Linked DNA regions of Homo sapiens: region 2 is linked to region 1. Evidence: promoter capture Hi-C in human tissues and cell types (Jung and others, 2019). All regions are on one chromosome and are shown on one strand. Each heading gives the region's core, a stretch centred on a gene start or on the middle of the fragment in contact. The rest is flanking DNA. Distances are from core to core; before and after follow the strand shown. Region 1 holds the start of PRB3 (proline rich protein BstNI subfamily 3). Region 2 has its middle 23 kb from the start of PRB2.

Region 1 (6,448 bases), core at 2,032-4,531:
AAATTTAACCTTGAAAATATTCTAAGAGAAACTTGTTTTTCTTCTCTGAATCTCATTTCCTTTCACTTTCTTGTAAAGAAATGAATGAATGAAGACCAAGTAACCAGTGAAGCACAGTAGGCAAGAACTCAGATCTGAGAACTGACTCCCTTCCATTCCACTCACTACCTTTACATGAACCTAGGCACGCACCTAAATCACCTCATCTACAAAATTAAGATAATAATAATAATCACACCTCCCTAATATGATAGTTCTGAAGACTGAATATCATAGTAAATGCTGAAGAAGTGTTTTCTATTATAATCAGCCTTTGCTAGGATAAATGGAAAGAATATAAATATGCTCAAATAATTGTGAAATATATATTTAGAGAGCATCAACATCAAATAAAAATATAAAGATGACCATCACATAATATATATTATGTTATCATATAATATATAGTATAATATAATATAATATAATATAAAGATGACAATTACATCAGTGTAACCGAAGCTTTTAGACAATTCCAAGCAAATCTGAATTCTCACACACAACCGTATTATTAGAATGGCTGGTTTATGCAATGAGCACAGTAAGTTGAGGAAAATTCTGCTTTCTGTTCCGTTCACAGAACTTCCCAGTCTTCAAAAAGAGAGAGATGTGTGGGTGTGAGAGAGCTAATGCTGGGGTAGGAATGTTACCAAGAGCAGCTGAGGATATTAAGCTCTTCAGGAGAGTGCATCGTGGCCTGAACTATCACCTTCTAGTAAAGATTATGCAAGTGGTTTTATTTGGGATGAGTGTTGAAAGTGGAGGCAACTCAATTTGCTAAAGGACAGTGCCTGAAGGGAGTGAGGATTTTTGAACCACTGAACACCTGTTAGTGACTTAGAAAAGGTTGGGAGTTGTTATGAGAGCTGAATTGTGTTTCCTAAAATTTCATATGTTGAAGACTGTTCCTTCAGGGCCTCAGAATATGAACATGGATATTAGAAGGCAAGTGGAGTGCTGAGGGCTGCCACTCACCTCTAGATGCCCAATCTCCTGCTGCAGTCCTGCTCCTCTCTTCCACCCACCCTCACTCACAGACAGTGTCCCTTTCCACATTTCCATCACTTCTGTTTTTGTTTTGTCTGGTTAGTGCATAGCTGATATTTATGCTTTCCTGATACACTTTACTCATTGCTGACATTGGAGAAAGTCAGGGAAAGGGCCTGAGATAAGGGACTTTTAGGGGCATTTCTGTTGTCTTCCTCTACTCTCCTGCCAAGGACAAATCTTTCTTGTATCAGGCCTGCAGCAACCTAAGTTGGCGACAACATCAGGCAATGTTGGCCTGGCCTCTCTGCTGCTCCTTGTTTCTGACATTCCTTTGTTACCTGATGGTCTAACTTAAGACACCTAGGCAGGATTGGTCATCTCCAGTTCCTATGGAGGAGACCAGAGATAGAAATCTCAATAATATAATGGGACCTGCTGGCACAAGCAAGTACTCTCTGCCTAAGATAAAACTCATGAAGACTAGCTAGAACCAGTCCACTTTCCATAGAGCCAGAAATAATTTCCAATTAATAATATATTCCCCTTTCAAGTATGTCTATATTTTTGCCAGGGAAAATATCAATCTTCCTGGTTCCCTTGCAAGGGCAAAGTTATCTGTAGCAAAGCCTTCTGTATTAGGAAGTCTTCCTGTACTATTACCCCCAACTCTTCAGAAGGGCCAGACCAGACCCTCATCTGCACAGTCCAGGATCCACTCATCCACAATGGTCAAGAGGTCTGTCTTTAGGATTTACTGTCACATACCCTCTCTACCTCCATCATACCTCCAGCCAAGCTGTCCTCAAATTAATACCAGCCATGCACAAAATGTGAACAATTACACAAGACACACAGAAGGTCTAAGTGGTAAATGGCAGCTGACTCACTGACTAACCTGTATATTCCATGAACTGATGAGCAGGGATTTACTAGGTATAACAGAAGAATCAGCAGCTAAAAGAAGTGCTAACAATGCAGGACTCTGAGAGGGCTTTTTGGAAACACAACATTTATTGTGAAATTACACAGACAAGAATGAAACAAAGGTGGTGAGAATTATAGCTTATTACTTAGAAGATTAAATAAAGGAAATCTTACCAAATTCCTGGGGAAAAAAGCCAGATATATAAAGAAAATTACACAAAATGAGCTTGACTCAGAAAATAAAATATGAACAAAGAAGTACCAGAAAGAACGTCAGGGAGGAATGCATATCAGAATATTGTAGAAAAAATACTCTTTGTGGAAGAACAATCTGAGAAAACAGGTAACACAAATACTGACTAAACCAAGAAAACCAATACAATGCAATTGAGGCTTTAATGAGGGTATCTGATTACCTTATTTGAATGTAGAATTGTAGCCACTTAATTATCAGAGGTAGGAATTCAATACAATTCTTAAAAGAAATGAAGCAGAGGGTGAATTTTGTAGAATATTCTAGAGAAAGGGAAGAGCATGAAGGAAGTTTTGGCAACATGATATTGCATGGTTCCTGCAAGGAACTATATATTCAGTTTTCTCAGGTCTAGAAATTTCCTCGTGGTTTGTGTGTCCATTTTGCATTCATAACCCCTAAAGATACTTTAAAATACACAATTTTGGCCTTCCTGTGTTTCACAACAAGAAGCCTTTCCTGACTTGAGTGAGATCCACAGAAGCATGAACAATAGCTGTAGCCTGAGTAGGCTGTGAGGCAGCCTTCTGTCATCTGTGTGCCCAGGAGTGTGCTGTCCTCAAACATCTCCCAGATAGCAGAAACTATCTCTATCGCATCAAAAGTTAAGCTAAATGTGATACTCTCTGTACACACACATCACGAGAGATGGAAATAGGCTATAAAAACAGCCAGAGATATTGATCATCATCACCGCTGGCTGTAGCTTCACTGCCCACACACACATACACAGAAATAAATAGCAAAGTTGAAAGTGGACAATAGTCTTACCAAAAAGATTGAAACTCTAATGACGTCTGAAGTTCAATTATGACACCGTGCTGATTGCTTGGACACAGTTCCTTTAAAACCTTTGTTCAAGTCATAGTTGTACCTTTTAGAAATAAGGTACAAACAACATCCAACCCAACCTGTTCCTCTGGGCTAGAGTCCCAGACAGAAATAAGGGATACACCTGACCTGCAGTAAGGAAAGCAGAACCCAGTCTCTGGGGTGGTGAGGCCCACCCAGTGTGGAGCTCAAAGGTGCCACTGTTCTGCTCCTCTTTATAAAGGGAGCTGCCATGGTTCTCCCAGCACAGAGTTGGGAGTGACTCCAGAGCCTCCAGCAAGATGCTACTGATTCTGCTGTCGGTGGCCCTGCTGGCCCTGAGCTCAGCTCAGAGCTTAAATGAAGGTAAGACAGAAGGAGGAGAAGATGTGGTGACTCTGCTTGGGGCTTAGGAGGTGATAGTTGTAATTATGGGGAAGAGAGGAGAATGAAAACACAGATGGGGCTGCAGAGGTTTCATGCCTAGGATCAGGAGACCTGTTGTGCCCTCATTCCACACCAAGGGCTTCTAATTTATTTAATGTACAATGAAAATCCAATAAAGAATTTGTACCAGGGGAATGAGAAGGTAAGATTTGCATTTATAGAGAGATAGAACTGTGCTGTGAAGGATGCAGTGGTGAATGCAAGGCAGATTCAGGAAAGTCCAGCTGTGAAGATCCTAAACTGATCTCAGTAAGTACACAGGGATGATTGTGGCCTTGCTCTACCTAGTGGATCAGCATTGATGATGGAGATAAACACACATTAGAGATACTGCAGAGACAGAACTGGATAAAACACTTGCCTGTGTCTAACTACAGATATAGAAATATCAGATTCAATCATTGTGATTTTTCTTTCCCCTACACACAGTATTTCAATGTGCTGGGAGTGGTATAGGTAAGATTGTATTGAAACAATTACTTCTGGTTACCGAAATTGAGAAAGCTTGTGAATATAAGCAATGTATTTATAGGAGATGGAGGGCATAAGAATACCAAAATATCACATTGAAGTACCTGGCATGTGTAAACTAAATTAGCATTAAGTCTTGAAGGATGCTAGGGAAGAAAAAAAGGGGCTCTTCTATATTGAGTTCATGGCTGTTGCTCTGTGTGGTAACAACCCTGCCTCCCCTTACACCTTCCTCCCCTTCCAGCAGCTTCACAGATGGTAGCTGATGAGCTAACCTAGGGGATGCATGGGGTGTGGTGAGAAGTCCCCTTTCCCTGTAGAACACCTGTGAATCTTGCAAAATTCGAGATGTAACCTTTCCCATCATCCTGTGCTTCTCTTCTAGATGTCAGCCAGGAAGAATCTCCCTCCGTAATATCAGGTAAATCCCAATTCACTCTCAATCTGTTTTAACTATCTTCTTCTGCTTATGAATGGATCAGTTCTCCAGTGTCTTCTCACCAACATTTTCCTTTAGAAATTGATTAATATTAGTCCCCCTAATAATGCAGGCAATCTTCATGCAACCTTGATTTTGGGGACCATGAGCAGGGCCACCAAATTGAATGGCAGAGATGCTTGGCTTAGATGAAAACGGGAGTGGGTTGACTTCCCTCCTGCCAGGAGTGCCTGCTGGGAGATGACAGACAAATGGCCAGTGTCCTTATTCTGACTCCTCCTTAGACTGAGAGCCCCTCAACTGCTTCCTTCTTCTCCAGCATTCCACTCCAGAGTTCTAGAGCTTCACTGAAAATGCAAAGAAATTAGTGTCTGGGTCTTATTTTTGTGCATTTCCCCATTTAGCTGCGTTACTGTAAAAATTTGCGGCAACTATTCAGTGAATGCCGTGTGTCCACCTCCTCCAGGAAAGCCAGAAGGACGACGCCCACAAGGAGGAAACCAGCCCCAACGTACCCCACCTCCTCCAGGAAAGCCAGAAGGACGACCCCCACAAGGAGGCAACCAGTCCCAAGGTCCCCCACCTCGTCCAGGAAAGCCAGAAGGACCACCCCCACAAGGAGGAAACCAGTCCCAAGGTCCCCCACCTCGTCCGGGAAAGCCAGAAGGACAACCCCCACAAGGAGGAAACCAGTCCCAAGGTCCCCCACCTCGTCCGGGAAAGCCAGAAGGACCACCCCCACAAGGAGGAAACCAGTCCCAAGGTCCCCCGCCTCGTCCGGGAAAGCCAGAAGGACCACCCCCACAAGGAGGAAACCAGTCCCAAGGTCCCCCGCCTCGTCCGGGAAAGCCAGAAGGACCACCCCCACAAGGAGGAAACCAGTCCCAAGGTCCCCCGCCTCATCCGGGAAAGCCAGAAGGACCACCCCCACAAGGAGGAAACCAGTCCCAAGGTCCCCCACCTCGTCCGGGAAAGCCAGAAGGACCACCCCCACAAGGAGGAAACCAGTCCCAAGGTCCCCCACCTCGTCCGGGAAAGCCAGAAGGACCACCCCCACAAGGAGGCAACAAACCTCAAGGTCCCCCACCTCGTCCAGGAAAGCCAGAAGGACCACCCCCACAAGGAGGAAACCAGTCCCAAGGTCCCCCACCTCGTCCAGGAAAGCCAGAAGGACCACCTTCACAAGGAGGCAACAAACCTCAAGGTCCCCCACCTCATCCAGGAAAGCCACAAGGACCACCCCCACAAGAAGGTAACAAACCTCAACGTCCCCCTCCTCCAGGAAGGCCACAAGGACCACCCCCACCAGGAGGCAATCCCCAGCAGCCTCTGCCACCTCCCGCTGGAAAGCCCCAGGGACCACCTCCACCTCCTCAAGGGGGCAGACCACACAGACCTCCCCAGGGACAGCCTCCCCAGTAATCAAGGTTCAATGACAGGTATGATTCCAGTTTATTCTTCACCAAGTGCTCTAAGTGTTACAGTTCTCCAACTTTATTGTGCCAATGAATCAACTAAAAACCCATTGACATTGTATTGTCCTAGAACCCATTTCTAAAGATTTGTATTCAGATACTCTGGAATAGGGTAAGAAGACCCTGTATTTCTAACAAACTCTTTAAGGAACTCTGATGTTGAGAAACAACATACCATACAATCTGTCTTAAATTGTGTTGGCAATGAGGAAGTAGTACCATGTCCATTCTTGGTGCTCTGCTTTCGGTCCACAAACTCAGAGATATTGCATTTAAATTTTTCACCTGAGCACTGTTTGCTCATTCCTGCCTCACGCCAGCCTCTCGAGTCCAGTATTCCTGCCAAATGGTCCCTGATCTTTCAGCAGCTAAATGGTGTCTCATTTTTTACATACTTAGTTTTCAGTAAGTACATGATTAAGCTAACAAAAGATATCTAATGGAATGGAAAAATATGAAGTTAATTTTAAAGGCGTAGCTCATCCTACTCACCTTCCTTCCTTCAAAAAGCTACCACTGTTGACTTTATGGGATCTTCTCTTTGAAATATTTATGTGTGCATAGACATACAGCATTCTTTTACCCTACCACTAATACCAT
Region 2 (6,612 bases), core at 3,142-5,641, 100 kb before region 1:
AATAAAGGGGAAGAGCAAGAAAAAATTCTTAAAGACATGAAGTAGGATGGCTCATTCAAGAACTTCTATTCATTCTGTTCATTTCTAGAAACCTCTGGTAGATTTTGTGTCCAACTTTGTTTTAACCTCTCCACGAATATTAATAATAGAATTCGTTAAGACACCTGTATCCTAAAACACCGAGACTTTTCTGATCGGAGCCAGATCCAAGGAATATTGGACAATCTGTGTGGGTCCGACCGGGCTGAGGGCCAACCTTCTGTCAGCCATGAATGGCCAGGTTTGTGTTGTCTGCACATAGCTCAAAGTTCTAAAGACATAACCTCTATATAATCAAATATTTAGCGAAATATGATAGGCATAGGTATACAAAACTCCACAGCCAACCTACCTCTTGTTCCTTAGAATATGATTGTGTTCAGAAAATAGCCCTAAGAAGAGGTGATCAAGCTAAAATGAGGGAGTTTCAGTGGAACTAAATCCAATAAGATGAATGTCCTTAGAAAAAGTGGAAATTCCTTATAAGAACTGGAAATTTGCACACAGAGAGACACAAGAAGTACGTAGGCACAGACGCAGCCCCATGGGAGGACACAGCAAGAAGGTGATATCTAGATGCCAAGTAGACAGGGCCAAGAAGAACTGGACCTGCTGACACATTCACCGTGGAACTTGAGCATCCAGAAGTGTCGGAAAATAATTTCTGTTGCTTAAGAATATTAGTCTGTGATATTTTGCTTGGACAGGTATAATGAAGAAATTCAGGGGAGAGCAGGTTTTAGGAGGCAGAAATTAAGAGTCCTGCTTAGTGCAGGAGTGTAATGTAAACGGTATGGTTACATTATTTTAAATGGCAAGTGGATTGCTGACGTCCTTGACTCATGGACAAATGCCTAAGCTTTTGTTGCCATCTTGCTCCTTGCTTTTACCCCATCCTAAATCAGTGACACTGTCTCCATCAGTTCTTTGGTAACCTCTATTTTGCTTGTCTCTGGTAGCTTGATATCTGATATTTAGTCCTTCCTGATATGCTAATCTCTTTCACTCATTTCTGACATAGGAGAAGGTCAGGGCATGAGTTGAGTGATATTTGGAAGGATCACCTCTTGCCTTGCTGTACTCAGCAGACAAGGAGAAGTCTGTCTCTAACCAGGACTGCAGCTTCCCCACTGATTCCCACAAGGAGTCACATCTGCCTGGCTCTCCCCTCTGCTTCTTCTCTCTTGCGTTTCTTTCCTTCCTGATGGGCCACCATAAGCTACCTAGGCCAGACTGCCCATCAACAGCTTCCTTTTCAAACAATGTTTGGTGAAACCAGAGAAAATCATTCAATAACATCAGGACACCAGATTGGCCCAAGCACTCTGTGTCTCTCTGAAAGAATGTGAATCTCAGTTACAAATGTTAAACTTTCTATGTAACTGGAGAATATTTGGCCACTGGTATTATATTCCATCTTCAGAAAACATCCCTATTTATCCTAAGAGAAAAACAAGACAGCAATCTGCCTAGTCAGCTGCAAAATTCTAAGTTACCTCTAGTAGAGCTTATTGTATCAGGATGCCTTCCTATATGCAGTGGGTTGTTCAAATGTTGAAGGAAAAGGTATATCCTATTAAGAAACACCATGAATGGATTCCAATGTTTTGGCACCAAAATGAAATCATAATCTTTTGCTATAACATGTCTGAACAGGAGCTAGTATGAGGCATCAAGAAAAATAAGAGCAGTTTCAAAAGAGCCCCTAGAAGACCAACATGAATTTTTCTAAAATTAAAGTGAGTATAAACATCAAATTTATGGTGAAGCTTGGGTGGAGGAAGGCAAAATCATTGATGGTGTCCAAAGAGTTGTCCTACTTGACACGTGGTAAGTTGACATTGGTTGAAGAAGTCAGCAGTTCACAAATTCAATGAGGAGTTCATTTCAAGAAGGAATGAGGCAATGTTGAACCTAAAGCTTATCGTGACAGATGATTCACATCATATTGCAAGGAATAAATTCATCTTCTTTATACCCAGGAGAAGAGGTGTGATGATTAGCAGCTCACACAATAACCAACACTGCAGACTTCTCAGTTGGTTCAGTTTACATGAATCTAACTGAATGATTAAAGTTTAGTAAGCTTTTCACTTAATGGATGCCCAAACTGTGTCACCAAGATCAAGTACAGACAAGAGCAGAACTTTCCCTAAAAATTTAAATAGGAAGAACGAAGACCATAAGCATTTCTTCAATGAATTATAAGAGGAGATAACACATGACTTTACCAGTAAAATCCAGAAAACAAATACAATCAAAGCAATGGCTACCAAGAGGCGGAAATGTCCAGTCAAAACAAAAGTGGATGAGGAGAGCACAAAGATCTTGGCAAGAGTTTATTGGAAAGCTCAAGTCATTTTGCTGGTTGACTTTCTGGAGAATGACAGTATCTCCTTATTCTGAGAATATTTTGAGAAAGTCAAAGCTTTACTAGATGAATCCCTGGGAAAGCTTCAGCAGAGTCCTTCACCACAACCTTCCTCCTGCTCATTTCTCTTATCAAACAGGGCAATTATATGAGAGTTCTCATGGTAAATCATTAGGCTTTCACATTACTGAGAAGTGATGCCAGGTGGACTTCCTGGGTCCACTGTGGACTTGGAGAACTTTTCTGACTAGCTAGATGATTGTAAATGCACCAATCAGTGCTCTGGGTCTAGTTAAAGGACTGTAAATGCACCAATCCACACTCTGTAACAATGCACCCATGAGCCCTCTGTGTCTAGCTAAAGGATTGTACATGCACCAATCAGCACTCTATAAAAATGCTCCAATCAGTGCTCTCTGTCTAGCTAAAGGATTGTGAATGCACAAATCAGCACTCTGTAAAAATGAACCAATCAGCACTCTGTGTCTAACTAAAAGATTGCAAACGCACCAATCAGCAGCCTGTAAAATGGACAAATCAGCACTCTGCAAAATGGACCAATCAGCACTCTGCAAAATATACCAATCATCGGGATGTGGGCAGGGCCAAATAAGGGAATAAAAGCTGGCCAACTGAGCCAGCAGTGGTAACTTGTTTGGGTCCCCTTCCATGCTGTGGAAGCTTTGTTCTTTTGCCCTTCACAACAAATCTTGCTGCTGCTCAGTCTTTGGGTCTGCACTACCTTCATGAGCTGTAACACCCACGAGAGGGTCTGCGGCTTCATTCCTGAAGTCAGTGAGACCATCAACCCACTAGGAGGAACAAACAACTTTGGACACAGCTTTAAGAGCTGTAACACTCACTGAAAAGGTCTGCAGCCTCACCCCTGAAGTCAGTGAGAACAAGAACCCACTGGAAGGAAGAAACTCCAGACACATCTGCACATCTGAAGGAACAAACTATGGACACATCATCTTTAAGAACTGTAACACTCACTGCAAGCATCCGCAGCTTCATTCTTGAAGTCAGCGAGACCAAGAACCAACTGGAAGAAAACAATTTTGGACATATTACAACCCTAATTTGGTTTCTTTCATTTTTTTTTGTTTTGTAATCTTATAACATTTGTAAAAGGCATCCATTTTCCTTCAGTTAATAATGTAAAAAATACATATCAATAGCTGGCATGTTGACCAAAATGTATGACAAGTGGTCAATAATTTGTGTCTTTTTATATAGCTCATTAACAAGTAGGATTGGGAAATGGTTGTAAACTGAGTACCAGGTGGTAGAATTGAAGGAAACTTCCCATGTAACACTTTAGTTTTTGCTCTATTCCAAAGACAACAGGAGGTAAAGGGTTAAAGATGCCCCAAAGCTGTTGCACACCTTTGGGGAGACTTAAAATTCACGTGTTTATTCAGTTGAGTCTTAGGCTGTGACTACAATGCTTGAATTAGACAGTAAATGTGTCTTACTTACTTGCATGAAGACACTTTGTTCACATCTCTCTTATCACTTCTTTTCCTCTACTCGGATCTCAGTTCCTTTAAGGATTCGGGCTGGGCCTGAGATGACCTGGCTCAAAAAGGACTAAAGGCCCTACGTACTCATCTCCAAATCTTGCAAAAATATCAAGGAGGGTAGAAACATAAGTATTTATAGCTCTATTGCCTATACTTGCTCAATTCACCATTGTACTTGATTCTGTCAGAGTAGGGGAAGGTGTGCTGAGGATACAGGAAAGAGCTACAGTGGCATATAAGGGGAAAGAAAGGAAGAGACTGCAAGTCTGTTGAATCCATAGACACTGGAGTTGTGTTTAAACGAGGTAGACCCTGGGGCTAGAAGCCAAGGTGGGGGGAAAAAAGCTTTTCAGTTGCAGTAGTCATTTATTATTATTATTGTTATTATTAGTATTATTATTTCTTTTTAGAGACAGGGACTTGTTCTCTCACTTAAGCTGGAGTACAGTGGTGCAATCATGGCTCACTGCAGTCTTGAACTCCTGGGATCAAGCAATTCTTCCAGATCACCCTCTGAATTAGATGGCACTACAAGTGCCAATCGCCATGCGAGGTTGATTTTGTAAATTTTGTTGTATACATGGGGAGATCTTGCTATATTGTTCAGGCTGATCTTGAATTCCTGACATCAACAATCCTCCAATCTCAGCCTCCAAAAGTAGTGGGATTACAGTCATGAGCCAGCATGCTGGGTGTATAGTCACTCTTTCTACCTCAGCCTCATTTTCCTGCATTCTGTAAATCCCCATCAGAAGAGAGCAGGGCTGCCTGGCTACTGGGATAGCCTCTAAGAAGCCAATGTTAAACTCTGTGGTTCTTGTAGAGGAAAAGAAAAAAGAAGTCCTTGAGTTCAATTGAGCTTTGAGAAAATGGGGTACAAAACATGAAAAGTTAGGAAGACATTGTGGATAAGGCCCTTGGGACCCATTCAGCACACTTTTCTGTGTTTTTAATTTTATAAGTGTGTATTATGTGAAATACTTACACTCTTATCTCATAAGAGCCAAGGAGAATCATCCACATAGAAGCTTCAAGCAGAATAACGTCAGTGGGATTAACTCTTCTGCCAGTGGAGCCAGTGGGTGGATCACGATGCAGCCTGAGTGCCTCCACCCTTCAATGTCCAAAGCTTGCCTTGTTGAACTTTTTGTGTATTGTAAACACAGAAAAATGCCCATGTGAGGCATAAAATTGAAAATTACTCAATATACTTTTACAAACCGTAAACAATTGACCAACTGTTAATGAAGGGTATAATCAAGATACGACAACCTTGAAACAACTTGGATATGGAAATGATCAGACTTTAAAGCAGCTCTTATAGCCAACTTTTCTGAGGTAAATGTGAACACTCTCAAAATAAATGGGAAAAAGCTTCTCAGCAGAAAAAGGAACTATAGAAAATAATAAAATAGAAATTTCAGAACTAACATATATAAGTCTAAAATTTGAAAAAAGACCTTATAGACTGTGAAAGTTTTTCAGAAAGTAAATGATCAAGGTGTTTGAAGACAAAAAACTAAATTAACCAAGTCAAATCCAAGAAGAGACATCTTAGAAGAAATGAACCTGTTAACACCTTGATCATGGAATGTGAGCCTCCAGAACTGTGAGAAAATTAATTTCTGTTGTTCAAATTACACAGTGTGTTTTGTTTTTTTTAAGGGCAGAGATAACAAACTACATCAGGGGAGAGCAGTTTAGGATGCAGAAATCAAGGATCTTATTTGGGACATGTTATGTTTGCATCCATATTAGAAGGCAAGTGGATTGCTGAGAGCTTCAACTGACCAAAAGGTGCCTGAGCTCCTGCTGCAGGCCTGCTCCTTGCTTTGACCCCATCCTTACTCCCTGACAGGGCCTCTTTCAGCTCCTCTGTCATCTCTGTTTTATTTGTGTGTGGAGATTTCATAGTTAATATTTATTCTTCCCTAATAAACTAATCTCTTTCACTCATTGCTGACATTGGACAATGTCAGAGAAAGGGCCTGAGAGGAGTGATATTTGAAGGCAATGCCTGCTGTCTTCCTGTACTCACCAAGCCAAGGGGGAGCCTTTCTTTCACCAGGACTATGACTTCTACAGCAACCTATGCAATGAGGCAAGTCTGCAAGGCACTCCCCTCTGCTCCTTCCCTCGGATCTTCCTTTCCCACTAAAAGGTCTACCATAAGTCACTAGGCAGGACCATTCATCTCCAGTTTCCCTGTCTAATCAGTGTGTGTGGAAACCAATGATAGTCATCCCAATATCATTAGGGCACCCGCTAGGACAAGCAACTACTTTATGCCCACCCCTAAAGCACATAAAGCCAAACTACACATGTTTTATTATTGCATAGCCAAAGAAGAATTGCTAACTGGTAATATATTTCCTCTTTAGCAAACATCCCTAATATTCCAGAAGGGGTGAGGGAGGAAAACAACAGTCTGTCTAATCACCAGCCAATGGCAGAGTAATCTGCAACAACCCTCCTTGTATGAGGAAGGCTTCCAATAATATAAGGGATTTTCAAACTGTTTCTAGAAAATACTTATGACTTTTTAAAATTATGAGTGGATATAATCATTTTTTGTATCAAAATACATTTGTACTAACTTGTTACAACATGTCTGAACAGGATCTTGTTCAGTCACTAACATGGTTGAGAAAGCGGTTTGAAAACAGCCTCTATCAG

The links. The method cuts DNA at HindIII sites, captures the fragments that hold promoters and counts their contacts. A contact is called where the count stands out against the background at its distance.
Region 2: a contact is called between a fragment that was not itself captured here and the fragment with the promoter of PRB3 in region 1, in 2 of the 25 tissues and cell types used here (small bowel and thymus).

What each region holds. Positions count from the first base shown.
Region 1 is chr12:11,266,540-11,272,987 of GRCh38, reverse strand. PRB3 (proline rich protein BstNI subfamily 3) reads left to right here and starts at 3,281. Exons shown (of 4, transcript NM_001394862.1): 1 at 3,281-3,382; 2 at 4,320-4,355; 3 at 4,840-5,812. The coding sequence starts at 3,319. The coding sequence ends at 5,795. The region is part of intron 1 of LOC107987435 (a long non-coding RNA gene); the gene reads right to left. The HindIII fragment of the contact is 7,773 bases long and covers 1-6,445 here.
Region 2 is chr12:11,369,221-11,375,832 of GRCh38, reverse strand. No RefSeq gene overlaps it. Among named protein-coding and RNA genes, the nearest start is that of PRB2, 23 kb to the left of the region's middle. The HindIII fragment of the contact is 3,197 bases long and covers 2,793-5,989 here.